Linked DNA regions of Homo sapiens: regions 2, 3, 4 and 5 are each linked to region 1. Evidence: promoter capture Hi-C in 16 types of primary human blood cells and fetal thymus (Javierre and others, 2016). All regions are on one chromosome and are shown on one strand. The core of a region is centred on a gene start or on the middle of the fragment in contact, and the rest is flanking DNA. Distances in the headings are between cores, read along the strand shown.

Region 1 (4,959 bases), core at 2,330-4,829:
CAACCTAAATGCCCATCAATGGTAGACTGAAGGGGAGGTGGACTGATTTATAAAAGTAAAGCCTTTTCCTGAAGTGAGACAACAGACTGCTATCATACCGTTTTATGATAGTCTTGGGGAAATAAAAAAAAAAATCCAGACTGCTATTAGAGTTTATCAATAAATTTTCATTAAAAGGCAAGATCTCTGATCCTTCTCAAGAGACTATTTGATTTTGATCACATTATTTTATTTAGAAAAAGGAGAGATTTGGGGTGGCTGAAGTATAGTTGTGATACTTAGAAACACCTGTTATTTAAGAGAAAAATCATCGTGTTTCCTTTGGCAGCACATTTACAAACACTGGAATGTTACAGAGATCAGTGTGGCCTCTGAGCAAGGATGACATGCAAATTCTTGAAGTGTTTCAGATTAAAAAGACAGAGAGAGAAACACTGTCATTACTTTTTAAACTCATTTAAAATCTGAAAACTGGGACCTTCCTTTCTTACCGTCTTATCTCACTGACCCTGATCCACAGACGCAAGGGAAGCTAAGCATATGATCACTCGTGGGGTAACTGTCATTTTTCTTTATCTCACATCTTGAGCACATTTGAGTGCCGTGCCCAGCACTCCAAGGATTTCTGTCAGCATGTATTTATTGGCCTTTTATTAGAAACTTTCTTACCTCATGTCTGCTCTCATGAATATAGATCAGAAATTAGAAACAAAAAATATTTATCTGGTAAGCAATTTCTTTGGTAACTGAACTAATAGGAACTACTGGGACTTCCTGGAAGTGAGGCTACCTTTTCCATTAGAGTTTATGCTTCCTCTTTTGTAGACTTCACACATTGCTCAAATATTTGTGGCGTGCATTCCAACTACAAGGTGCAATTGAGGGACGAGAAAAGGGAAAACTTAGTTGGGCAGACAGCTAAAGTTGGTCTTTGGTAAAATTCTTTTAAACAGAAAGACAGCCTGAAAAATCAAGCTACAGGCACACATAGAGTGGCCTGGGGAAAACTCAGGCAACAGCTGCCCTGATAAGAAAGGAAGGCCCAACATAGAAGCCTTTTGTTCTTTGTGTGATTAGCAGGTTCCCAGGAAAAAGTTTCTTCCCCTTTTCAGGCACATACATGGTGGGCTCTGTGGGAACTTGCATGGGGGTGGAGAGGGTGATTACCTAGAACCCACAGTTACACAAACAAGAGAAGCTGAACTTTATCCTTACCCAAGACATACCCACAGCTGCACAGATAAGGGGAGCTGCACAGATAGCTTTACAAGTAAGTTACACAAACAGCTACAGAGATGAGAGGAGTTTCTTATAAAAGCTTTTGGATTCAACTGTAAAAGTGGCAAAATGGCAAAGAAAGAAAGCTTTCTTCTTTCATATAATAAACTTTCTCTTCAACCTCACTCTGGTGTCCACACTCCTTAATTCTCTTGGTTGTGAGACAACAAGCTTGGATAACACCTCAGACAACGAGACCACTGACCACTGACCCGTTTCACAATGACGTACTACAGGATGGTGTATGCTGGGTATTCATACATCGTCATGCAACTTCCTAGTTTTATGTGTAAGGTAGTTTCCTCTGTCATCACCTTGGTATTTCCCATCTAGTCACGGTATTAAGTGGGTCTTATGCGCTTGTTAAGAGCTGGTAAGAGAAGCTTAACATTCACTTGATGGAATGGTTACTGTGGCTTGTATCCACAGGAGCTCCAGCTCATGCTTAAAATACTGTGTTAGAACAAATGGATCAGAGTGAATTCTGTAACAGTAAATCCACAGAACTGAAAATTACTGACTTGCATCATAAACTGGTTGCAGTGGCAAGGCAGAGAGTTCAGATTCGTGTTGTACTGGGGAAAGAAGAAACCAAAGAAAATAAGTGGTTCATACACAGGGGACTATTTAACTGATCCAAGCCAGAAGACTACTGAGGGTGAAAGGAGCATTATCAGTAATTATGTTTAGACAAAAGTTGTGACTGTCCTTAGTAAACCAGGATAGACGTAGAGTCAATTCAAAAAGAAAGAAAGAACAAACATATCTAATGTACATTAAGAACCCAGGGATATCGGGTTCTTAATGTGCATATTTATTGGATTGCCCAGAGCTTTGACCTTCAAGTATAATTGAGTTCTTGAAACTTAGATTTAGGTTTGTGGTTAAGGGGCAAAATAATCAGATTCCAAATAGGGTTCTGCAGACAAATCCCACAGGTCCTAAAGTCTCTGGGTCTTTTCCTTGCCATTGTGGTATCTCAGGGGCTTGTGTAGGCAATGATAACCAGTTCCATACTTCTGCTAAGAGAAATTTGGGGATCAGAAAATCTTTCTCTGCAGCTCTTCAGAGTCTCTTTAATTTACTTCAATAACAAGGAAATCAGAAATCTCAGGACAGTGCTGGATGTGGCAGAAATTCAGGGCAATTCACAACTTTCCTACCAATTTAGAGTTACCTGTCTGGAATCACTTCAACTGACAGTGGAAGATAGTTTATAAAATTGTAGGGGAGGCAAAATTTCACCTTCGTCCCTGTAGGGTCCCAGCATGGCCCTAGTATTAAATTGATTTAAGATATTAATAGACTGACAGGAGACAACCACACAAATGTTTATTTTACATAGCACGGGGGCCCTCATTAAAAAAAAAAAAGACCTAAAGCAGCAGTTAAGAGCCAATTGCTTATAGAGTGAAATGGACAAAAAATAGTAGTTGTGAAACATGATAAGGCGAAGGGGCTTGGGGTAAAGAAGCGACTAGAAAGATAGGGATTAACAAATTTTGTTTGGACAGATTTCCCTCGACTTCAACTTTCTGTCCTTGAAGATAACAATGTTATTTTATAGGGAAGACATCTTTCACATGGGAATTTCATCTCCTCCTTTTAAGACACATAATATCCATGACAGTGATCTTGCACCTGCTGTTTTTAAGTGCCTTTAATTTAAAATAGTCAATATGCCACAGCAGCATATTTTGAGGTGGTATATTATTAACTCCTTCAAGGCTAAAAGCTTTGAATATGCCGGGGTAGTTACCAGACTGGAGAACCTTCTCAGCTATTTGCCACTTGTGGAATGCATTCAAATGTACTGAGTGCTTATTAACTTTTCTCTCAGTCCCTCACTCTGCTGCTCTTCTCGCCTCATCTCACATAAGGGAAAACTCAGGCTCCAAAAGCAAAGTGATTCCACCAAGATGACAATGGAATCGGGACCTGGTGTCCAAGCCTGGTCCTCGCACGAGGTAGATACTCCCTGAGATGCTGGGGAAGAGCCATGGTAGGGCCACTCATGGCCCTCTTCCTTTGGCGGACCTTGGAATCCACCTTCCCTGCGTTAAAGTGCTCCACCAGGTGACGCCGGAAGAGAAGCCAGCAGTAAGTACATGTGAAATCCAGTAGCTGACCACAGACACGCGAGCGATAAGAAAAAGCTCGCTGCTTCTTTTCTCAACACTCCGCCAGCTGCGTCAGAGGCCCTTGACCCGCACTCAAAATGGCGGCGGCGGCGTCAGCATCAGCGGCCTCCTGCCCGTATCTATCGTGGCGGCGACGGGACCCGCCTCCCTGGGCGCCGGAGTCATGTGACCCACACAATGGCTGAGTGGCTACTCTCGGCTTCCTGGCAACGCCGAGCGAAAGCTATGACTGCGGCCGCGGGTTCGGCGGGCCGCGCCGCGGTGCCCTTGCTGCTGTGTGCGCTGCTGGCGCCCGGCGGCGCGTACGTGCTCGACGACTCCGACGGGCTGGGCCGGGAGTTCGACGGCATCGGCGCGGTCAGCGGCGGCGGGGTGAGCGGCAAGCTGCGGGGATACGCGGGGGGCGGCAAGAGCCCGCCCCGTGGGGCCAGCCCCACAAGCCCCCGCGGCGTTGCCCTGCGTTTCCACCGGCTCCACTCTCCGCCGCATTCCCCTAGGGTGCCAGTCAGCAGGCGGTTGGGGCGGGCCCGCTGCGGGGCTGGGGCGGGTGCTTTCTCGTTTAACACGAACCAGACAGGCAGTTAGGTTTGAACAAATGAGGATCCGGAGGTCCAGAGAGTATAGGTGCAGAGAGTAAAGTGACAGGTCTAAGTAGTGAAGTAGCCGGGGCTGGAACCCTCGTCCCAGGCAGTGGGGCACAGGCTGTCTTCATCGCGGAGATGGCAGTCGGGGAGCGTCGCTCCAGAAAGGGCCAGGGAGTGCGGGAGCGTCCGTGTGCGAAAGAGAACGCCCCAGTGGGATGCTTTGGCTGTGTCTCTCCCTTTTGGAGGAGTTGGTGGGTGGTGGAGTCGTTAAGTCCCGTGCAGTTGTTAGTGCAGGGTAAGAATGGGCTCCTCCAGAGAGGGTAGCGCCGAATAGGATTTCGTTTGGAGGCAGGACTGGTGCCTCAAGGTCTCTTTAAAAGGAAGATAAGCGAGCGGCCTGAAACTACCGGGTACTCCCTCTGGGCCCATGGGCTTCATGGTGGCCGACCTTTGGGTGAGAAGGTTTTTGTTTTTTGGTTTTGTATCCGAAATTACATCTAGGGCTAATGTTTCTTGAAAATGTTAAGGTTGAACTCGGATTTTTGGGGTTGAGTTGGATGGAGCTTGCATCCTTACATTCAACTCAGAACAAGCTTGAATGCCTGCTGCAAGGATGACCTGGTCTGTAGTGTGACCACAAGATATAACCTTCTGCTAGGGGAAATTTTTTTCCCCCTGGAGTTAGCTGATCCTTTTTGATTTTTATGTTTTCATTCCCTAATTTGCAATCTCTCCAGCCGTGCTGATGTGTATTTCAGGGGAAACCTGTGGGCCGATGAGTTAATGCATTTATTCTTTGCTACTACTATTCTCCTTTTTATGTTTTTGGGCTAAACCTGAAACAGCCAATATTTCATGGAGTGAGGCCCCATCTTTTTTATAGCTTTACTTGTGATACTATATCTAGGGTAAGAGCTTACCGAAAAATGGAAGTCTTTGTTTCCATTAGGTTTATT
Region 2 (4,959 bases), core at 1,319-3,818, 2.4 Mb after region 1:
TCTGGAAGTACTTGGGGCTCAAGTAACTGTTGCCAAAATAGGAGCGTTCTGTTCCTAAAATTCATTGCTTTAATCCACATTTGAATTCTGTTCATGGGACAGAGTGCTCATCAGTTGCTCAATGGATTAACTCCTTGACAACTACAACTAGGAAAAATCTGGCCACTTCAGCACACCAGCTGCAAGGCTTCTGAATGGGTTAAGACTGTTTGTTGAATTTCTGATTTAACAAAATGAATGTACTTTACCTATTCTTTTCCATTACCTTTATTTCTCTAAGTATTACAACACAGTATACAAAATGAAGGTGGACATTATAAATAAATAAATCTCCCTTGTATTTCCTGTTAGAGGCACTGGCAGAGACAATTTAACCTTCAGAGTTGATCCCTGCCAGTAATTTTCAGCATCCTATAAAGATTATCTTTCAACGATTTTCTGCACACAGTTCCTAGAGTCCTAACCCTTCACAAGGACAATTTCATTTCTCACATGGGAATTTTCCCTAGGTTCTTTTCTTTCAGATGGCTTTCTATTTTAGATAAGGGCAGGGACAGGAGAGTGGAGAGGTAGCTTAGCTTTAACCTCCAGAGCTGTGAAATCAAACAATGAGGCAGAAAATTATAGAAATATATAGTAAAAACTATATATATATATAGTTGGATATATATGTATATATCTCCAACCTACACAGAATCTTATAAAATGAGGTCCTTTCTGCTAGCCGCTACTTAACAACACTCAAAATTAGGTGCTGTCATCCTAAATTAATAATAAAAACAGCTAGATATGTAATCCATACAAGGACTATATTAGTCCATAAGATAGACTAATTATTATTCCCATTATACATATTATAGTAATGATTATAATGGCAATAGCTATGGTTTACTGAGTGCCTAACTACGTACCAGGCACCTTATTTGAGATGTCTTCATTTAATTCACACAGTAGGATTATAAGGTCGATGCTCCAGTTACTCCCATTACACAGATGAAGAAACTGATCCCAGAGAGGATAAATAATGCACCCAAAATCTATGCTAATAAATGCTAGGATTTAAACTCTGACTGGCCTAATTCTAGACTTCTTGACCACTTTGCCACAATGCCTCAAACAAACACTAAGTACAAATCACAATCAATTAGTAGTATTGAAAAAGACCTCTAAGAGTTATTGAACAAGTAATTTCTACCTCTTCCTTAGGGTCTCCATTCAAGCTTTCCGTCACTTTCACAGAGGTTCCTAAATTGAAACAAACCACAACTACACCCTGCATGCATATACAAACACATATATCATATAATCACAAGGTTGTATTTCATATGTATCAGAATAATGCTCATATGGCTACTCAACAGAATTCTATCAACGCTCCATTTGTTTTTGCTTTACCATCAATCTACAGGATCTAAGAGCAGGATCTACATATGGATTCAACCTCCTATATCACACAGATTGTAGAGTGGTAGTTAACATTATGTAAGCACCTCCCATTGTTAGTGGTACTGTTCCATGCCCCTCACTGTATGGAAAGATAAAAGTTAATACCAAACTGCATTCATGTTTACAGACACAGCTGTCAACCAGAGTCAGGATTTCATCCTTTCAAAGGCTAAGTAAGACCCAAGTTGAAATGAAATGACATAGAATCACATGTGTCACATGTCCTAACTGTGGGTGGAAAGATCTTAAGAAATAACACTACAAAATGATTCCAAACCTTACACCAAGCTTTACTCAAATGAAACGTGGGTCAAGAACTTTGGGGCACCAATCTCATAAGCCCCATAAATAAATACACATTTTCCCTGAATAAAAATAAATAATTTCATTATATACAATCCATTTCTATAAATTTAAAATAATACTGTAAAACAAACTTTGTAAGAATGTATATAATGTTACTACTTTATAGAGATAATTTAATCTTTTATTCCAGAAGAAAATGGAAGTCTCCATTCTGGAGTCAACTTCTAACATTAATATTCTTTTACTTGTGCTATGAAGGCCCACGAAGACTCAGGCTGTGAACCTAGGGGAAGGGAACAACCGCCATATTGCTCCAAGAAGTGGAGATGTGGTAGTTTTCTAAACTGTTTGAACTAGGACTCAATGGTAGCATCCAACAATTCTTTTCCTTTCTTTGACCACTAAATATAGAGGTCAGTCTTCTCTGGGGGTAAGTGGTATCCTGTTATGAGCCACGTGAAGCCAAGGGCTTGTCATTCAGAGCACTGCTTGCTCTGTTCTAAAATCTGGAAGACTCAAGGACTGCTGCTGCCCTCGACCATCTTCAAACAAATGGGAAGCTAATTTGCATAAGCCTCATTTCCATTTTATTCATCCTCTGCCCAAATCTAGATCAGAATGTTTTAATACCATCCCACTGTGGGCGGTCGCGCAAATTTCAAGGGTATCTGTGGTCAACAATTAGAAGGCATGGGTTTCAGAGTTGAGTTTATGTTAGAAATTAAAAGCCGAAATAAGCGAATGCCTGTTGCAAGATAAAGAATAAGAAAAACAAAAAGGCCAGCTAATATATAAAACATGAAAGAAACCTGAATCATCACTATGGACTTCTCATCTAATCTCTTCGGATTAGCCAGAACGCCACTATTTTTGGAATGCCTAGGATGTACACCAGGTACTTTACTTGCATTTCCACATTTATTCTTTAAAAGCACCTAGATAAATGAGGGATTTCTTTTTTTACTCCTTGATATATAAGTAAAACCCCAGAGGAAAAAGAAAATCAAAAGGCAGGCATTTTTCTCAATCCGCTAGAAACACAGGAACGCTTGCTCTACACCCATTTCCTTTCCTCACCAGCCCACATGACCTGGCTTCTGCTGACTGTTTTCTGATGATAGCTCATCATATAGCAGGAATATGTCCTAATAAGTGTACACAAGAAACTTCAGCAATTCACTCCACTTTTGGGTGTTTTCTTCTCTTTGAACATTAAACAGACTAAGACAAACCGTTAACTTTAACGAAACTCTATTAAGGTTTATGAACCAGATTTTTAGGTATGTGTGAATACTATTTTCTAAAAATAAATTGCCTCGATGCCATCATAAAGGTATTATAATAAAGGGGCATGCATGCACTCGCACATATATGAACACAAACTTCTTTTGCAAATGTAATCCCATTAAAAAGGAAAAACAAAATTACTTCTGAAAACTTCTGAAAATCCCATTAAAAAGGAAAAACAAAATTACTTCTGAAAACTGCAAAAATCTTGCAACACCAACAGTACCTTCCCTGGCTCATTAATTCTGGCCTAAATTTGCTACTGTCAGGCAAACCAGGCACACTGTCCAGCAGACACCCACCTGCTATTAGGCTGAATGTGCCTGGCATCTTGACATTCTATTGATTCCAATCCAAAGCTTATGTAAAAAAGGCAGCTCAGAGTCCAAAAGGAATTTCAGCCACAAATACTTTGGGAGAAATCCAAGCAACTAAAAACAGAAAGAAAGACAAGATGCAAATCTGAGTGACAAAACTGAGACAACCCAAGCCAGACTGGAGAATGTTCAAGGACAAATCTCCAAATGACCCAGGCATCAACCCCTTTGGATAACCACTTATTTAAAAAAAAAAAAAAAAAAAAAAATTCTAATACCCTGTGCATGGAATGACCACCCCTGACCCAATCTAGAGTATTGGTGGATATATTCACAAAGAAGTATTCACTAGTATCCCAGTGGCATCGCTTTTAAAGACAGCCCTGTCATTTTTGCCCTGTAAGCCCTTATTACATATTCAGTAGAAACTTGCCATCTCATAAATACAGTCTTGATAATGACAAAGAATTCAAATTATTAATCAGTTAAAATGAACCAGAAACTATGTAAAGTGCTTAAGAATATCAGTGTTTGCATCTTCAAAACAACCCCATGGGCTAAGAATTTTATTTCCATTTTATAGATACGGAAAATTGGGGTTCTGAGAGGCAAATTAATTTGCTCCAAGTGGCTGGAAAACGAGATACTAGAAAAGAGAGGACAACAGGATTCATTTATAAATTTTCCGACACTTTCCAGCCCTTCCCCACCCCTCCCAAATAACCTAAGCATAAATGAAATGGGTTTATGTCCAATTTCCAAATCCTGGTACTTGTGGCTTTGGTGGCGGCTACTTGTCACAGTTAACTCTGTATGAATAAGCTGGCTCCAGAGGGTTCTTTAAAGCCAGACCAATTCCCCCGGTCTTTATTTTAGCCAAGAGAAGACACACATTTCAAAATAAAAATAAATACATAAAAAGGAAGGAGAAGGAGAAACCCATAATCCCAGTAAGCAGCATAGATTGCATCTGGGCCTGGTTCCCCCACTCCAGCCTCCCACTCTCACCAGCCCACTGCACAGCTCCCACTGACTTCAAAGGCAGCTCCCGGGGGAAGGAGAAACAAAAGTCCAACAGGGCTGGCAGAAAGGAGGACCTTATCCAGAAGGGAGGGTGGGAGAGGAACAGAGATTCACTGCAGACACCAGTCGTCTCAAAACAAGAATTCAAAGTGTTTTCCCAAAGCTGATTTCTATCAGGGGTGCTGGGGTGGATCAGAAGGTTGAGACTCCAACTGGGAGAGATGTGTTTCTGCTGCTCAAATATTTCCCAAGTTTGCAAGACATCTCCAGCCTTTGGAGTGCCTTCTGGTTTGAGGAGCAGGGATGGCCATCCAGGTCTCAATGAGACTCAGTTAACTCCTCTCATGACAAGGCAGCCATATTTCACCATCCAGTAGAGCTGCCTGTGATTTTTTTGTGTGTGCATTTATTCAATTTGAAGCAATACTCCTTTGGTGAAAGAATGCCCCCTGGGTTGAGGTACGTAAAGTAAATATGCGGAAAAAATCAGAAAGTTCCTTAAAAGAGGTTTATTATATCACTCAACCCGTATCTCCCCACGATGCTACGATGACTATTTTCTTTGCCTGTGTCAGGGTTG
Region 3 (4,959 bases), core at 1,267-3,766, 2.4 Mb before region 1:
AAATTAGCCGGGTGTGGTGGTGTGCACCTGTAATCCCAGCTACTTGGGAGGCTGAGGCAGGAGAATCGCTTGAACCGGGGAGGGGGAGGTTGCAGTGAGCCAAGATTGGGCTACTGCACTCTAGCCTGGGTAACAGAGAGAGACTCCGTCTCAGAAAAAAAAAAAAAAAAAAAAAAGGGAAAAAGAGGATTTAAAAAGTATGAATACATGATTTCACTTATATGGGTCTAGAATAGGCATATCCATGGAGACAGAAAATATAGTAGTTTCCGGGGATTAGGGGATGGGGGGAAGGAGGCAGAAAGGAAGATGGGAATCACTGCCAATGGGTACAGGGTTTTTCAGGGTGATGAAAGTGTTCTAAAATTATATAGTGGTGATGGTTGTACAACCCTGTCAATATACTAAAAACCACCAAATTGTGTATTTTTAAAAGGTGAATTTTATGGTACATAAATTATATCGTGAGGAGAAAAAGTTATAAGGAGTAAGAAGATTGTAATATATTCGTATATATACAACATGTAATTGTACATACTAAAGAATAGTATGCTTATTAAAAAAAAAACTTACACATACAGTGGGACCCCATGTTGTAAACCCTATCTCTGCATCCATATGGTGAGAAAAAAATTCCAAAAGGAAATACAGAGTCTCAGCTATAGTTTATAGGTTATGGGTCATTTGACATCACAAATTTTAAATAATCAACAGCATTTCTATTAAATTCAGAAAAATGCTTTTGTAAAAATGGGAATGGGTTGGCCAGGCACGGTGGCTGATGCCTGTAATCTCAGCACTTGGGGAGGCTGAGGCGGGTGGATCACAAGGTCAGGAGATTGAGACCATCCTGGCTAACACGGTGAAACCCCGTCTCTACTAAAAATACAAAAAATTAGCAGGGTGTGGTGGTGAGCGCCTGTAGTCCCAGCTACTCGGGAGGCTGAGGCAGGAGAATGGTGTGAACCTGGGAGGCGGAGCTTGCAGTGAGTGGAGATCAGGCCACTGCACTCCAGCCTGAGCGACAGAGCAAGACTCCATCTCAAAAAAATAAAAATAAAAATGGGAATGGGCTGTTAATTAACTTCTTGTCATTGAAAGGGAGAAAGCCCAAGTTCTGCCTTGTGGAAACAGGATTAGATGTCCAGTGTTAGAAGTATTCCAAGTTTGAGAATCACCAGATATGGATACCTGCACTCAGAGGAAGTTTTACCTATATGACCTGTTCCTTTTAACTAAGATATGATTTTATAATTACTTTTTTACTTATTTTCCATTTTTAAAACAATCTATCTCAAATCTTGATTCTGATATGTCTATGCAGGAAAAAATCTATCTTTTGCTAAAAAATGCAGTAACTTAAAAAAAATCACAACTTGAAGGGTATACAAAGACTCAAAATGAAAAATCAGTTTAAAAGCAAACATGCTTACATACAGCCAGGATCTAAAGATCTTGTTGTAACAAAATGTTCAAATAATTATATTGCTAGAGGAAACTCTGGATTTTCCTTTTAGCCTTTGTAAAACTGAAAATAAAACTAAGATATGATATTGAAAAGACTATCTGGGGCTGGGTACAGTGACTCATGCCTATAATCCCAGCACTTTGGGAGGCCAAGGCGGACAGATGACCTGAGGTCAGGAGTTCAAAACCAGCCTCGCCAACATAGTGAAACTCCGTCTCTATTAAAAATACAAAAATTAGCCAGACGTGGTGGTGTGCGCCTGTAGTCCCAGCTACTCAGGAGGCTGAGGCAGGAGAATTGCTTGAACCCAGGAGGCGAAGGTTGCAGTGAGCCAAGATCACACCACTGCACTCCAGCCTGAGTGACAGAGCAAGACTCTGTCTCAAAAAAAAAAAAAAAAAAAAAAAAAAATTATCTGAGCCAAGGCACAGTGGCTCACACTTGTAATCCCAACACTTTGGGAGGCCAAGGTGGGAGGATTTGTTGAGCCCAGGAGTTTGAGACCAGCCTAAGCAACATGTGAAACCGCGTCTGCATAAAAAAATTTAAAAATTAGCTGAGCACAGCAGCACATCCCTGTAGTCCCAGCTACTGGGGGGGCTGAGGTGGGAGGATCATTTGAACCTGGGAGGTGGAGGCTGCAGTGAGCTGTGATTGTGCCACTGCACTCCAGCCTGAGTGAGAATGAGACCCCACCTCAAAAGAGAAAAAAAAAACCCCACAATCTGAATGTGTCAATTCACACTCATTCCTAAGGTTCCTGACACAAAGAACATAATTCTCATGAGGAAAACTGCCACTTGATTTAATCAGAGTTCAGGGGCTTTAATGGGAGTTCTGGTCCATGAGCTAACTCCTCCCACTCCTTGGCAGAGAGTTGAGGGCAGTGGGAGAGAAGCACCAAGCTATAAAAAGCTTTATGTTTTATTTCCTTCTAAGGCATCCTGAGTCATTGGGTGCTCCAGCCCCCCAGTGCCCGGGAAAGTTCAGCTTGAATCGGAAATGTGTGTGTGTTTTTCTAAACCGGAGCTGCTGAAAACCAGATGATGTCACTTGGACTGAATCCCTTACAGGCCCAGTGGTAGCCTCCTATTTCCGTCCTGGGAGAATGGAAGTCACTTAACAATCAGTTTCTCTGACCCAGGTTCCAATATTACATCACGTCTTAATAGCAAGCTTAACCTCCACTCCACCTCCAACATGAAGCTGGTGAGAATTTTTAAATCCCATTTGTCATCTCAAAGGACACAGCACTCCTACACAATTTTGCCTCCCATCCTTTAGGCTGCAATTTCATCTATCTAAACACAAAGTGATGCCAAACCAGGTCGGTCATAATCCTAGAAAGCCACAGGCAGAAGGTACCAAGTCCAATATGATCTTACCAAGGAGGATACCAAGGCCTGGGAAAGGTAAAGAACCTGCCTGAGGCTGGAGGGACAGAACCAAATCCAGAAGCCAGGTCTAAAGCCTCAGAGCAGAGGGCCGTCTCCACGGTGATGACCATGTCCTTATAGTCCCAGCTCCTATGTGCAGGAGGGGCTCTTTAAATGCTTTCTGGAGATGTGTCTCAAGCCTTCTGTCGAAAGCAGGGCCTTATCCCGCCCCGCTTTTCAGCCCTCTCACTCCTTCTGGGCAGAGTGGGAAACACACGAGGCAGCTGGAAAAGGCCTTTCTGGAAGCAAAGGGGGCAGAAGCAGGCAGCCTCTCCTGCTACATCTAAGAACCAGGGTCTGGGCCAGTGTTGACTAAGGGGAAGGCTTCAATGCCAAGGTCCTAAATTGTACTTGCATCCCACCCCACTTTCCTCAGCTGTCCCGCTCTTGACATGAACCAAGGTATCATCTTGGTTGTCATCTAAAATTCCCATCTTATTGAAAAAAATGTATTTCTTTATACAAGTCCTAAAGAGGCTTGGATTGGGGTTAAAAGGAAACTAATCCTTATGGTGTAAATTTTCCGCATAAAAAGCAAGCATGGACAAGTTAATAGGCTAAGAGAATAGGTTAAAATGTCAGCTATTAACACTCAAACTACTTAAAACTAGGGTAAGACGGTTGTGGGATGTGTCTACGGTTATTTCTGGCCCCTCACTCTCACAGTACTAGAGACCCAGTGAAATTACATCTGAGGGCAGGTCTATCTTGTTGAGAGCAAAAGGAATTGAAAGCTATGCAAGCTAGAAACCTACACAGTTCGCAGTTAGAGATGAAAGGCTGCAGAAATGTTTATTGAATACAGTGCCAGGTTTATAAATAAAACGTATTTACAATTTCCATAGAGTTGGTCCCCCATCAGAGAGGTGGTTAAATCTCCAAACAGTTTATCTCAAGATTTACAGAAACGTCCAAGTACATCTCCTTTTCAAATAGCCATGGTGAAGGGCAACTTCAGTAACAAAAGAACTACCACCATCTTTGCTACAGAAGTGTTTAATAAACATCATAATAGATTTGGAGAAAGAACACACACTCCACCCATGCCACTACCTTCTTACTCCAAGGGATACAGACAGCAAAGAATTTCTGTCTCCTACAGGACAACTTCAGGGGATTAAAAAAACAGTAACTGCCAGCTGGAGGGATAGATTAAGACACATTAGTGGAAATCTAGTCACTGCCAAAGGAGAAATATATTTAGGATATACAATAAATAATTCAAATGCTTAAAATAATTGAATGAACGGAAGAGTAGACTTGACCAAATTTACATTCGTTGTTCAGGAAGAGATTCCCAGTATGCTGAGGGGTTCGTGGTAAGCTATTCCTCTGACGAGACACAGCAGCGCTGGGCCTACTGCACAGCCGTTCATTACAATATTGTTACAAGTACAATCAGACATGCATTTATAAAGAGAATATAAAAATATGTACAATAGCTCATTTTCAATGTGTGTAAGTTGCCGAAAGACACCAATGAAAGTGTGCAAAAATTCATTTGTCAAAAAATCAGAAAAAGCCTTCCTTGGCAACAGTGCATCAAAAGCCCATCTGAAATATCGAGATCCATTTGCCTCGCTCAACACCTACCCCAAACAGATGGAGAACAAAACTATGAAAGGGTTTGCCAAGTACTCAGCAGTTTCTTATGGCAAGTCTCAGGCTAAAGCAGGATGCCAGTTCAACTAATCACTTTATATATAAATATATGTATATATTTATAGAGTAGTTAGAAGTAGGGGCAAGAGTTTACAGGAAGGTCCTAACCAACTTCAAGGGCACTGCCAGGACACCCAGCTATTTCCTCTCACAAACTCATGCAGACTAACACCCAACGCCTGGGCTGGTCATCCCCCCAAATACCAGGGCGGAAGGCTACAGTGGATTCTGCCTCACCTCTGCTCAAAACTGGAACTCAGCATTCCCTGGAGGGGGAGGGTGTAGGGTTTCTGGTTCCCAGACAGGATCCTGGCCATACAAGAATCCTGTTTCAAAGGTAGTCTTTTAGGATACGCTGCAGGACCACTAAGAGTCCACCCAGCTTCTAAAGAC
Region 4 (4,959 bases), core at 1,072-3,571, 2.4 Mb before region 1:
GGGTCCGGGATATAGAATAAGAACAGAGCAAAATAACTGGCCATTAATGAGACTGGACCCATGACTTGAGCCTCAGCTTTGGGCTTTAACCAACTGAGCCCTTAAGTCAAAGGCAGCCAGCAATGGTTACACAGACTTAGGGACCAAGTACTGTGAGTGAATTCAGATAGTAAAATGTCCAGTGGGATAAGATCATAGTTTTGTGCTTTAGTTGTTTACACTAACTTCAAGCTGGGTTTTTTCTTTCTTTTTTTGTTTTCTGAGATAGGGTCTCGCTCTGTCCCCCAGGCTGGAGTACAATGGCATGATCATAGCTGACTGTAATCTCAAACTCCCGGGCTCAAATAATCTTCTTGCCTTGGACTCCCAAAGTGCTGGGATTACAGGAGTGAGCCACCACGCCTGGCCTGGAGATTCTTTTTTTAAATTTAATTAATTAATTTATTATTATTATTACTATTTTTAGAGATGGGGTCTCGCTATGTTGCCCAAACTGGTCTCTAACTCCTGGGCTCAAGCGATCCACCCGCCTCGGCCTCCCAAATTGCTAGGATTACAGGCATGAGCCACTGTGTCCAGCCAGGCCTGGAAATTCTTAAACTATCATTTTCCTCATTAATCCGAAAGCAAGGGCAATAGTAACTTCAATTAGCATCCAAACGATAACCAGCAACTTCATATTTCAACATATGTGCTAGAATGCAGGTCAAACCATAGAACAGGTCTAAAGCTTATCCACGCAGCAACAGACATTTAGCAGTTTACAAATGATTTAACAGCTATTCAGTTGAGGGATATGTGGCCACAGCGATAAACTGAAATGGCAGGGTTTTGGGGTGACTCAGTTTGCCTGTAGAGCAGAACCAGTGATTGGCACAAATGGGTACTGTTGCTGAGGTCTTGATACACGGAAAACCAGACCATAATGATAAATCAGGTAAATTGATGCTGATTGTGGGTTATATTAAAGAATTGGCCCCACCAATTCCAACAGACTTAAGATCTAATTTGGCAACTGTGTGGTTTGGTTTTCAATCAATAAATAGCCTCTGTCCTGCCTTCTAGAGCTGTGCTGCCCAATCCAGTAGTCACTAATCACATGTGGCTATTTAAATCAAACTTAATTAAAATTTAAAATTGAGTTCCTCAGTCTTTATAGCCACATTTCAAGTGCTCAATAGGCCCATATGGCTAGTGGTTACCATATTGGGCAGCATGGAACATTTCCATCATTCCAATAAGTTACATCAGATAGCTCCATTCTAGAAATTTTAAAAAAGGAAGTATCTGTGTTTGCCTGGATCAGGAATGTTGAGGATCCCAAAATTTCTAATAGCACATCCATGATCTTTGTCTATCCCAATGAGCTTGTCCCCTTCTGATCCATCCAATGCACAGCTGCCAGCAGTTTCATCATGTCACTCCCATGCTCAAAAACCCTCAATGCCTCCCAATGCCTTTCAACAGTTTGCCAATCTACTTTTTCAGCATTACCATCCTTTGTTATTCTATACATTCTTTGCTTCAGACAAATCAGTATCGTCTCTGTCCCCTGAATATACATTGTCTCCTCTCAACTCATTGCCTTTTCCATGCCATTCCTAGTGTCCAAATGCCTATCCATATCCTCACCACCTATCTAAATCCTACGGGTCCTTCATGCCCAGTTTAAATGCAACATGTTTCAAACTTTCCTGATTATCACAACTCCAAATGAACTTCCTCTCCGCTGAATTCCTACCCCTCTTGTCCTTTTCTACCTGATATTATCGTTTCATATATCTAACATCAACCAGATAGTAGTAGAAGCCAAGATATACTTTTTGAACTCAGCATAGCATTTGACTCATTAAACACCAGTCAACTATTTAATTGATTAGTGTTGAGCTCAATTCACTCTCAGGACTGAAGAGGATATTAAAAGTGAATTTCTCAAAATACAAAAGGAAAAGAAAGTCCTTTGCTTTAATTCTGAAAGCAAGGTGGGAGGCCACACCTCCTGAGGAACATCCTGAACTATCCCTGCTTTGATCCCAACCTGTATCCTTCTACAGTCACGAGCAAGCGTATACCTTGGCTGACCCATCCTTTGGCAATTTTCTTCAGACTTTCACATAACTGGATCCATCCTCTGCTTCCTATAATGGAGAAAATATGGTCAAAGGGAAGTTGTCTTTGAACAGAAAAACCACCTCCATCTGAATCTAGTGAAGATGCTTATTGAGTTTTATTCATTCTAAGTTGAGGCTCTGAGTCATTGGCTAATAAACCAACTCCAGGCATCACAACGGGATGATTGAATCATTTGGCCACTGAAAAGATGTACCTTCAGGAGTGTTTTCAAGTTGTACAACTGAGTATCAGTGTGTCACCTTCCTTCTCATTCTCATTCTCATAAACCAAAAAGCATAGACAGAAAATTTGTCTTATTTTGATGAAGGGTTACTCAAGGCTTTGTTATTTTCATTGTTTTGACAAAGCAAATAGCTTTTTCCCAAGAAGAGGACCATATTGCTGCATCTCATTTGCTAGGTTAAATGGCTGATTCGTTGGCCACTTAGCCAGGCAGACTCAGCTATCTCATCTGTAACATTAGTGTAATAAACAAACCCTAGGGAAATATACGATGTGGTTGCGTATAATATTTAAAATATCATTGTGCTAAATGGCAATGGGTGGGTCAGAAATCCATTCAGAACCCAGGTCAGGGGGTCTGACTTAGTCTGCGGAAGGGCTCAGCAGTGGGAAGATCCAACTCGGTCTCCCATCATTTGGCAGCACCCCCAACAGGTTGGTACTCAGGGCACTGAGCCCTCAGCCGCCTCACCCTCCACCAGTCCCATGCAATTCTGCTGAGTCATCACTGTCTTCCACAGCAGCCCAAGAGATTTGTGACTCAGAGAACTGATTTGTAGTTTCATGTTTCACTGCTCCAGCTCTTCCCTGCCACACGAAGGTTCACAGTTGCACCTGTTTCCCACAAAGTTTGAAACTTAGGAAATGACCTTAAAACTGAATAGCAGCAAAACATATGAGCCATATTTTAAATGGTCTGCTGACACGGAGATTCTACTAGAGGCATTTCTGATTTTCAAGTCCTAAAGAAGGGGAAAGAACTGAGAAAAGGTATTCTGCGCTTTGTACCTGTGGGAACTTTATTTTTATTTTTTAATTTTTTATACAGATTCAATTGAGACCTGTGGGAACCTTTGCATATGGGAATACTTCGTGGTTTGAGCACACATTTCAAACTGTGTTCCGTATGGTGACACCATAGGCTCCCACCGAGCCATTCTGACTTTCGAAACTTGTATGCTGTGAATATTTGCTAGACGGCCAGCTGGGTTAGGGGGTTAGGATACTGCTGAAGCCTTGGAACAAGTTTCTCTTTCTGTGAAAGAGCACCATGCTCTAAACAAGTCCAATCATACTGTTTTAACCACCTGAAGAAAAGAAATCAAAATTTTAGAAAGCAGCCTAAAAGTCACATAATGGGAAATAAAGACATAAACATTATTCCTTTTTTATGCAGAACAAAGAGTTTATTATAAATGTTCTTCATGAAAAAAAAAACCCTTAGCAAACTGGGCTAGAAAGGATTTATTTTTTATAGATTTAAAGGGTACATTTTTGTTACATGTATATATTGCACAGTGGTGGAGTCTGGGCTTTTAGTGTGACTGTCACCTGAGTAGTATACGATGTACCCAACAGGTAATTTCTCATCCCTCACTGCCCTCCCACTTTGTGGAGTCTCCAGTGTCTATTATTCCACTCTGTATGTCCATGAATATGATTATTTTTTATTAGCACTTTGCAACACCCTAAAAATACCTCAGAACTTTATGAAATAATTAGAATTGTGCAGCCACATTCCTTTTTATGCATCACTCATCTAAAAAAATAAGCTTCTCTGAGCTCTTCTGGGAATAAGAAAGGGAAATGCTGCTAGCCTAAAGAAGACAGAAGAAATTATGATACAGTTTCACAAGGGGAAAGTGTCAGCAATTTAAATGAAGGTCAAAGATTTAAGGCAAGCGGTTTAGATAAGGCCTAGCACAGAGAACAATTCAGAACAGCCAGTCCCTAAATGGATAACAAAGTCCAAAGCAAAGCCTCCCAAGATTTTCCACAGTCACTTGGAAGCCCTGTGAATGATAACATTCCTCTACTCCCCTTATTATGATTGTTCTTTGATTAAAATGTTTTCAAAGGTCAAAGGAAAGAGCAGTCTAAAAGCCTGCTCTTTCCCTAACTAGTCCCTTCTCGGGACTTAGTTTTCTTATCTGGAAAATGTAAAAGTTAGACCAGATGGACTTTCTCTGGTTCTTCCCAGATTTAGAATTTCATGATTCTAAATATTCTTGCTTGTGAATTTTGTGAGGAACTTGTGCGGAATTCCCTAGTAACCAGGAGACTCTTAGAGATGTGGATGTATATACATCTGAGGTCACAGTGGACTTGTCTCAAGAGTTACAACTTTTTAGAAGTGTTAAAAATCTGCCTGGCATGGCAGCTCACGCCTGTAATCACAGCCCTTTGGGAGGCCAAGACGGGTGGATCACTTGAGGCTAGGAGTTCGAGACCAGCCTGACCAACGTGGTGAAACTCCATCTCTACAAAAAATACAAAAATTAGCTAGGTGTGGTGGCACACGCCTGTAGTCCCAGCTACTCCAGAGGCTGAGGCACGAGAATCACTTGAACCCGGAAGGCAGAGATTGCAGTGAGCCAAGATCACGCCACTGCACTCCAGCCTGAGTGACAGAATGAGACTATCTCAAAAAAAAAAAAAAAAATGTTAAGAATCATTATAGAATTCTGACTTTGTCAAATGGTACTCATATAAAATACTTAGGACAGACTAGACCATGCCTACTCAGATTGACTGATCGATTGTGACATTTACTTCCAAAAATTGCCCCCACCAAAAAAAAAGGAAGGACAAAAAAGAAAAAAA
Region 5 (4,959 bases), core at 1,118-3,617, 2.1 Mb after region 1:
AAATTGTCTTAAAACACACTTCCTAGAAATTTCAACAGAAAACAGGGAAAGATTAACCACTGGAGAAGAGACTAGATCTGAAGTCATCACCACGCTCAGAGAGATTTTTCATCTAGACTTCTGAGGGAAGCTCCAAGAGATTACCAGGGACACTATCTGCATAATAAGACAAATTTTGTTCATGGTGAACATCTCATCACCTTCTCATAACTTGCCACCACCTCGCCCAGATCTCAAAAGAACTTTGTCTTTTTTTAGGCTAATTCATTTCTCTAAACATCATTGCCTATACTCTAAATTGCCTGCACTCCCATCTCCCTCTCCCCTATGAAGAGTGTTATTTAAGCTGCAGCCATCTGGCCCTTCTTTGAGACTCATATTTTCCATGGCTCCCATGCTTCTGCACATTAATAGAGTTATATGACTTTCTTTTGTTAATCTATCTATTGTCAGTTTTTTTCAGCAGCAAATCCTCAGAGAGCAGAAGAGAAGCTTTCCTTTTGCCTCTATAGGAAAAATTAAAAGGCAGAAGATCCAGAATAACCAACACAATCCTGCAGGAACAGAGGAATAATGTTGAGGATTCACACTATCTTATTTTAAGACTTACTGTAAAGCTACAATGATTAAGACCACATAGCATTGACCTCACCTCACCAAAAAAAAACCACATAGATCAGTGGAACAAAACAGAGAGCCTATAAATAGGCCCAAACATATATTCAAATGAATTTATAACTTCCCATTGGGTTCATCTTGCCCACTGCCTAGACAGGGCCAATTTACCAAGACAGGGGAATTACAATAGAGAAAAAGTAATTCACGCAGAGCCAGCTGTGCAGGAGACCAGAGCTTTATTACTACTCAAATCAGTCTCCCTGAGCATTCAGGGATCAGATGTTTTAAGGACAACTTGGTAGGCGGGGGGAAGCCAGTGAGCCAAGAGTGCTGATTGGTCAGGAAGGGGATAAAATCATAGGGAATTGAAGCTGTCCTCTTGGGCCAAGTCAGTTCCTGGCTGGAGCCACAAGATCAGATGAGCCAGTTAATTGATCTGGGTGGTGCCAGCTGATCCATCAAGGGGAGGGTCTGCAAATTTATCTCAATCACTGATCTTAAGAGCAGATTAGGGTTTTTTTGTTTTTTTTTTTTTTTTTTTTTCTGAGACCAAGTCTCACTCTGTCGCCCAGGCTGGAGTGCAGTGGCACGATCTTGGCTCACCACAAGCTCCACCTCCTGGGTTCACACCATTCTCCTGTCTCAGCCTCCCGAGTAGCTGGGACTACAGGTGCCTGCCGCCACACCCGGCTAATTTTTTTTTTTTTTTGTATTTTTAGTAGAGATGGGGTTTCACCATGTTAGCCAGGGTGGTCTCGATCTCCTGACCTCATGATCCACCCGCCTGGCCTCCCAAAGTGCTGGGATTACAGGCATGAGCCACCGCACCCAGCCCATAATTTCTAATCTTGTGGCTAATTTGTTAGTCCTACAAAGGCAGTCTAGTCCCCAGGCAAGAAGGAGGTTTGTCTGGGGAAAGGGCTGTTATTGTTTTTGTTTTAAACTATAAACTAAGTTCCTCCCAAAGTTAGTTCAGCCTACACCGAGGAATGAACAAGGACAGCTTGGAGGTTAGAAGAAAATGGAGTTGGTTAGGTCAAATATCTTTCACTGTCTCAGTTATAATTTTGCAATGGTAGTTTCCATTTTTCCCAAAGATTCAAAGTCAAGTCGATGAAGCAAATGTTGACATTTTAAACAAATAGTGCTGAAACAATTGGATACTCAAATTAAAACAAAAAGAACCTAGCACATATTCTACAGCTTTCACAAAAATTAAGTTGAAATTGATCAAGTACCTAACTTTAAAATGAAAAACTATAAAACATCTAAAAGAAAAAGAAAAGAGAAAATCTATGGAATCTTAGATTTGTCGATGAGTTTTTAAATACAGCACCAAAAGCACAATACATGAAAAAAAAGTAAGACTTTATTAGAATTATAAACATCTGCTCTTTGAGAAATATTAAGAGAGTTAAAGGACAAGCCATAGAATGAGAAAAAAATATTTGTGAAACACATATCTGGTAAAAAAAAAAAAAAGATAGAAAAAATAAAAATAATACATCCAAAATATACAGAGTGATGCTTAAAACTCAAGAATAAAATACAACTCAATTAAAAAGTAAGCAAAAGTTCTAAACAGATACCACCATATATATGGCAAATAAGTACATGTAAAGATGCTCAACATTGGTTGTCATTAGGTATATAAAAATTAAAATAATAATGAGATAACATTGTACATGTATTAAGAGGGCTAAAAACCAAAATATGCTAATACTAAATACTGGTTAGGATGAGGAGCAACAAGAACTCTCATTCATCACCGGAGAAAATGCAGAATGGTACAACCACTCTGATGGATAACTTAGCAGTTTCTAACAAAGCTAAACATATTTTTACCTTGTAATCCAGCAGCTGGGTTCTTAGATATTTACCTAGATGATTTGAGAAATTTTAACTACAGAAAACTTTCACATGAATGTTTATAGAATTTTATAAAATTATCACCAAAAACTGAAAGCTATCAAGATGTTCTTCAACACAGAAATGAATAAACTCTGGTATATCCATACAATGAAATACTATTCAGAGATAGGAAAGAATGAGCTATCAAGCTGTACAAGGACATAGATGATTCTTAAATGTGTATTGCTAAATGAAAGAAGCCAGCATGAAAGGACTGCTGCATACTGCATGATTATATTACATTCTGGAAAAAGCAAACTTATAGAGAGGGTAAAGATATCATTTGAAAGCAGCCTGGGCAAGATGGCAAGACCCTGGCTCTACAAAAAAAATTAAAAATTAGCTGGGCATGGTGGTGCACACCTGTAGTCCCAGCTACTTGGGAGGCTGAGGCAGGAGGATCCTTTGAGCCCAGGAAGTAAAGGTGGCAGTGAGCCATATATATGGTGCCACTGCACTCCAGACTGGGAAACGAAGCAAGACCCTGTCTCTAAAAATGAAAAAATAAAGAAAATAAAGATATCAGTGGTTTCTAGAGGTTCACAGACACAGATTTGAGTAGGTGAAGCACAAGAGATTGCCTAGAGTGGTGAAACTATTCTGTATGATACTGCAATGGTGGATAGATGATATTATGCATTTATCAAAACCCATAAAAGTCTAGAGCACAAAAACTTAACCGTAATGTATGAAAATTTTTAAAAAATTATTTAGGAGGTTAGGAGATCCCAGATACAAGGTAAACTGTGACTATACAACCATCCAATCTTCAACAAGGCCAACAAAAACAAGCAACAAGGAAAGGACACTCTATTCAATAAATGGTGCTGGGATAACTGGTTAGTATGCAGAAGATTGAAACTGGATCCCTACCTTTCACCAGATACAAAAATTAACTGAGGATGAATTAAAGACTCAAATGTACGCTCTCAAACTATAAAAATCCTAGGAAATATCCTTCTCAACACTGGCCTTGGCAAAGAAAATTTGGCTAAGTCCCCAAAAACAATTGCAGCAAAAACAAAAATTGACAAGTGGGACCTAATTAAAGAGCTGCTGCACAGCAAAAGAAACTACCAATAGAGTAAACAGAAAACCTACAGAATGTGAGAAAATATTTGCAAACTATGCATCCAACAAATGCCTAATATCCAGAATCTGTAAGGAACTTACAACAAGCAAAAAACAGAATACATTAAAAAATGGGCAAAGGACATGTACAGACACTTCTTAAAAGAAGACATACAAGCGGCCAACGAACATGAAAGAATGCTTGTCATCACTAATCATCAGGGAAATGCAAATCAAAACCACAATGCTATATCATCTTAAACCAGTTACAATGGCTATTACTCTACAGTCAAAAAACAACATATGCTGGCGAGTCTAGAGAAAAAGGAACATTTATACACTGTTGGTGAGAATGAAAATTAGTTCAGCCACTATAAAAAGCAGTTTGGAGACTTTTCAGAGAACTTAAAACAGAGGTACCATTCAACTCAGCAGTCCCACTGAGACGAGAAGTCTTCTTCTGATGGAAGGTTTTTCTCAATGGAAGCGTTCGTGTCTCACGGGCTTCAAGGAATGAAGCTGTGGACCACAGCAGCGAGTGTTACAACTTGATTAGAGAAACGGGCGGACCCAAAGAGTGTGCGGCTGCAAGATTTGTTAAAGTGAAAGCAAAAGTAAAGTGAAAGCGAAAGTAAAGCTTCTGCGTGGTGGAAGGGGACCCAGAAGGGTTGCTGTTTCTGGCTTGGGTGTCTTATGCTTATATCGCCTTATGACCCCTCCCCTTTTCCTTTTTCTGTCCTATACAATTAGCTTATTTTCAACCCACTTGTGGGTTGATGGGCCTGATTGGTTAAAAACATCAGGCTGTAGCTAGACCTTAAACTCCCTATATGATTGGTTGAAGTTTCAATCCCTTAGCTTGCAGCTGTGACTCATTTTGGCTTAGGGGAAAGTCCCCTTTGATTGGTTGAAGTTTAAATCCCTTAGCTTGCAGCTGTGACTTATTTGGGTTTAGGGGATAGTCCCCTTAGGGAAGTCCCTATTGACCCAGGAAGTCCAGCCAACTTAGCCACTTAGTCCCTCACCATTACTGGGTATATAACGAAAGGAATTTAGGTCATCATACTGGAAAAAACACATGCTATTGTATGTACATTGCCACACTACTCACAATAGCAAAGACATATGTGATGGTTAATACTGAGTGTCAATTTGACTGGATTGAAGGATACAAAGTATTGATCCTGGGTGTGTCTGTGAGGGTGTTCCCAAAGGAGATTAACATTTGAGTTAGTGGGCTGGGAAAGGCAGACCCACCCTTAATCTGGGTGGCACAATCTAATCAGCTGCCAGGTGGCTAGAATATAAGCAGGCAGAAAAATGGAAAAGAGAGACTGGCCTAGTCTCCCAGCCTACATC

The links. Contacts are between HindIII fragments. The CHiCAGO score rates a contact against its expected background, and 5 or more counts as called.
Region 2: a contact is called between a fragment that was not itself captured here and the fragment with the promoter of GALC in region 1, in 1 of 17 cell types (M0 macrophages). The highest score is 5.7, in M0 macrophages.
Region 3: a contact is called between a fragment that was not itself captured here and the fragment with the promoter of GALC in region 1, in 1 of 17 cell types (total B cells). The highest score is 5.8, in total B cells.
Region 4: a contact is called between a fragment that was not itself captured here and the fragment with the promoter of GALC in region 1, in 2 of 17 cell types (total B cells and neutrophils). The highest score is 9.8, in total B cells.
Region 5: a fragment that was not itself captured here is called in contact with the fragment with the promoter of GALC in region 1 in 5 of 17 cell types (activated CD4 T cells, total CD8 T cells, naive CD4 T cells and 2 more); the score reaches 9.9 in activated CD4 T cells.

What each region holds. Positions count from the first base shown.
Region 1 is chr14:87,991,802-87,996,760 of GRCh38, reverse strand. It overlaps GALC (galactosylceramidase), which reads left to right and starts at 3,579. Exons shown (of 17, transcript NM_000153.4): 1 at 3,579-3,791. The coding sequence starts at 3,597. It also overlaps the pseudogene RNU6-835P. RefSeq lists enhancers at 3,242-3,571, 3,266-3,766 and a silencer at 3,722-3,911. The HindIII fragment of the contact is 1,583 bases long and covers 3,016-4,598 here.
Region 2 is chr14:85,578,592-85,583,550 of GRCh38, reverse strand. The region is part of intron 1 of FLRT2 (fibronectin leucine rich transmembrane protein 2); the gene reads right to left. Among named protein-coding and RNA genes, the nearest start is that of FLRT2-AS1, 49 kb to the right of the region's middle. The HindIII fragment of the contact is 1,664 bases long and covers 1,737-3,400 here.
Region 3 is chr14:90,406,980-90,411,938 of GRCh38, reverse strand. CALM1 (calmodulin 1) reads right to left here. Exons shown (of 6, transcript NM_006888.6): 6 at 3,671-4,959. Among named protein-coding and RNA genes, the nearest start is that of CALM1, 12 kb to the right of the region's middle. The HindIII fragment of the contact is 261 bases long and covers 2,386-2,646 here.
Region 4 is chr14:90,386,535-90,391,493 of GRCh38, reverse strand. No RefSeq gene overlaps it. Among named protein-coding and RNA genes, the nearest start is that of CALM1, 8.0 kb to the left of the region's middle. The HindIII fragment of the contact is 3,178 bases long and covers 733-3,910 here.
Region 5 is chr14:85,933,923-85,938,881 of GRCh38, reverse strand. It overlaps LINC02328 (long intergenic non-protein coding RNA 2328), which reads right to left and starts at 4,204. Exons shown (of 4, transcript NR_110155.1): 1 at 4,021-4,204. RefSeq lists enhancers at 4,090-4,299, 4,670-4,719. The HindIII fragment of the contact is 3,745 bases long and covers 495-4,239 here.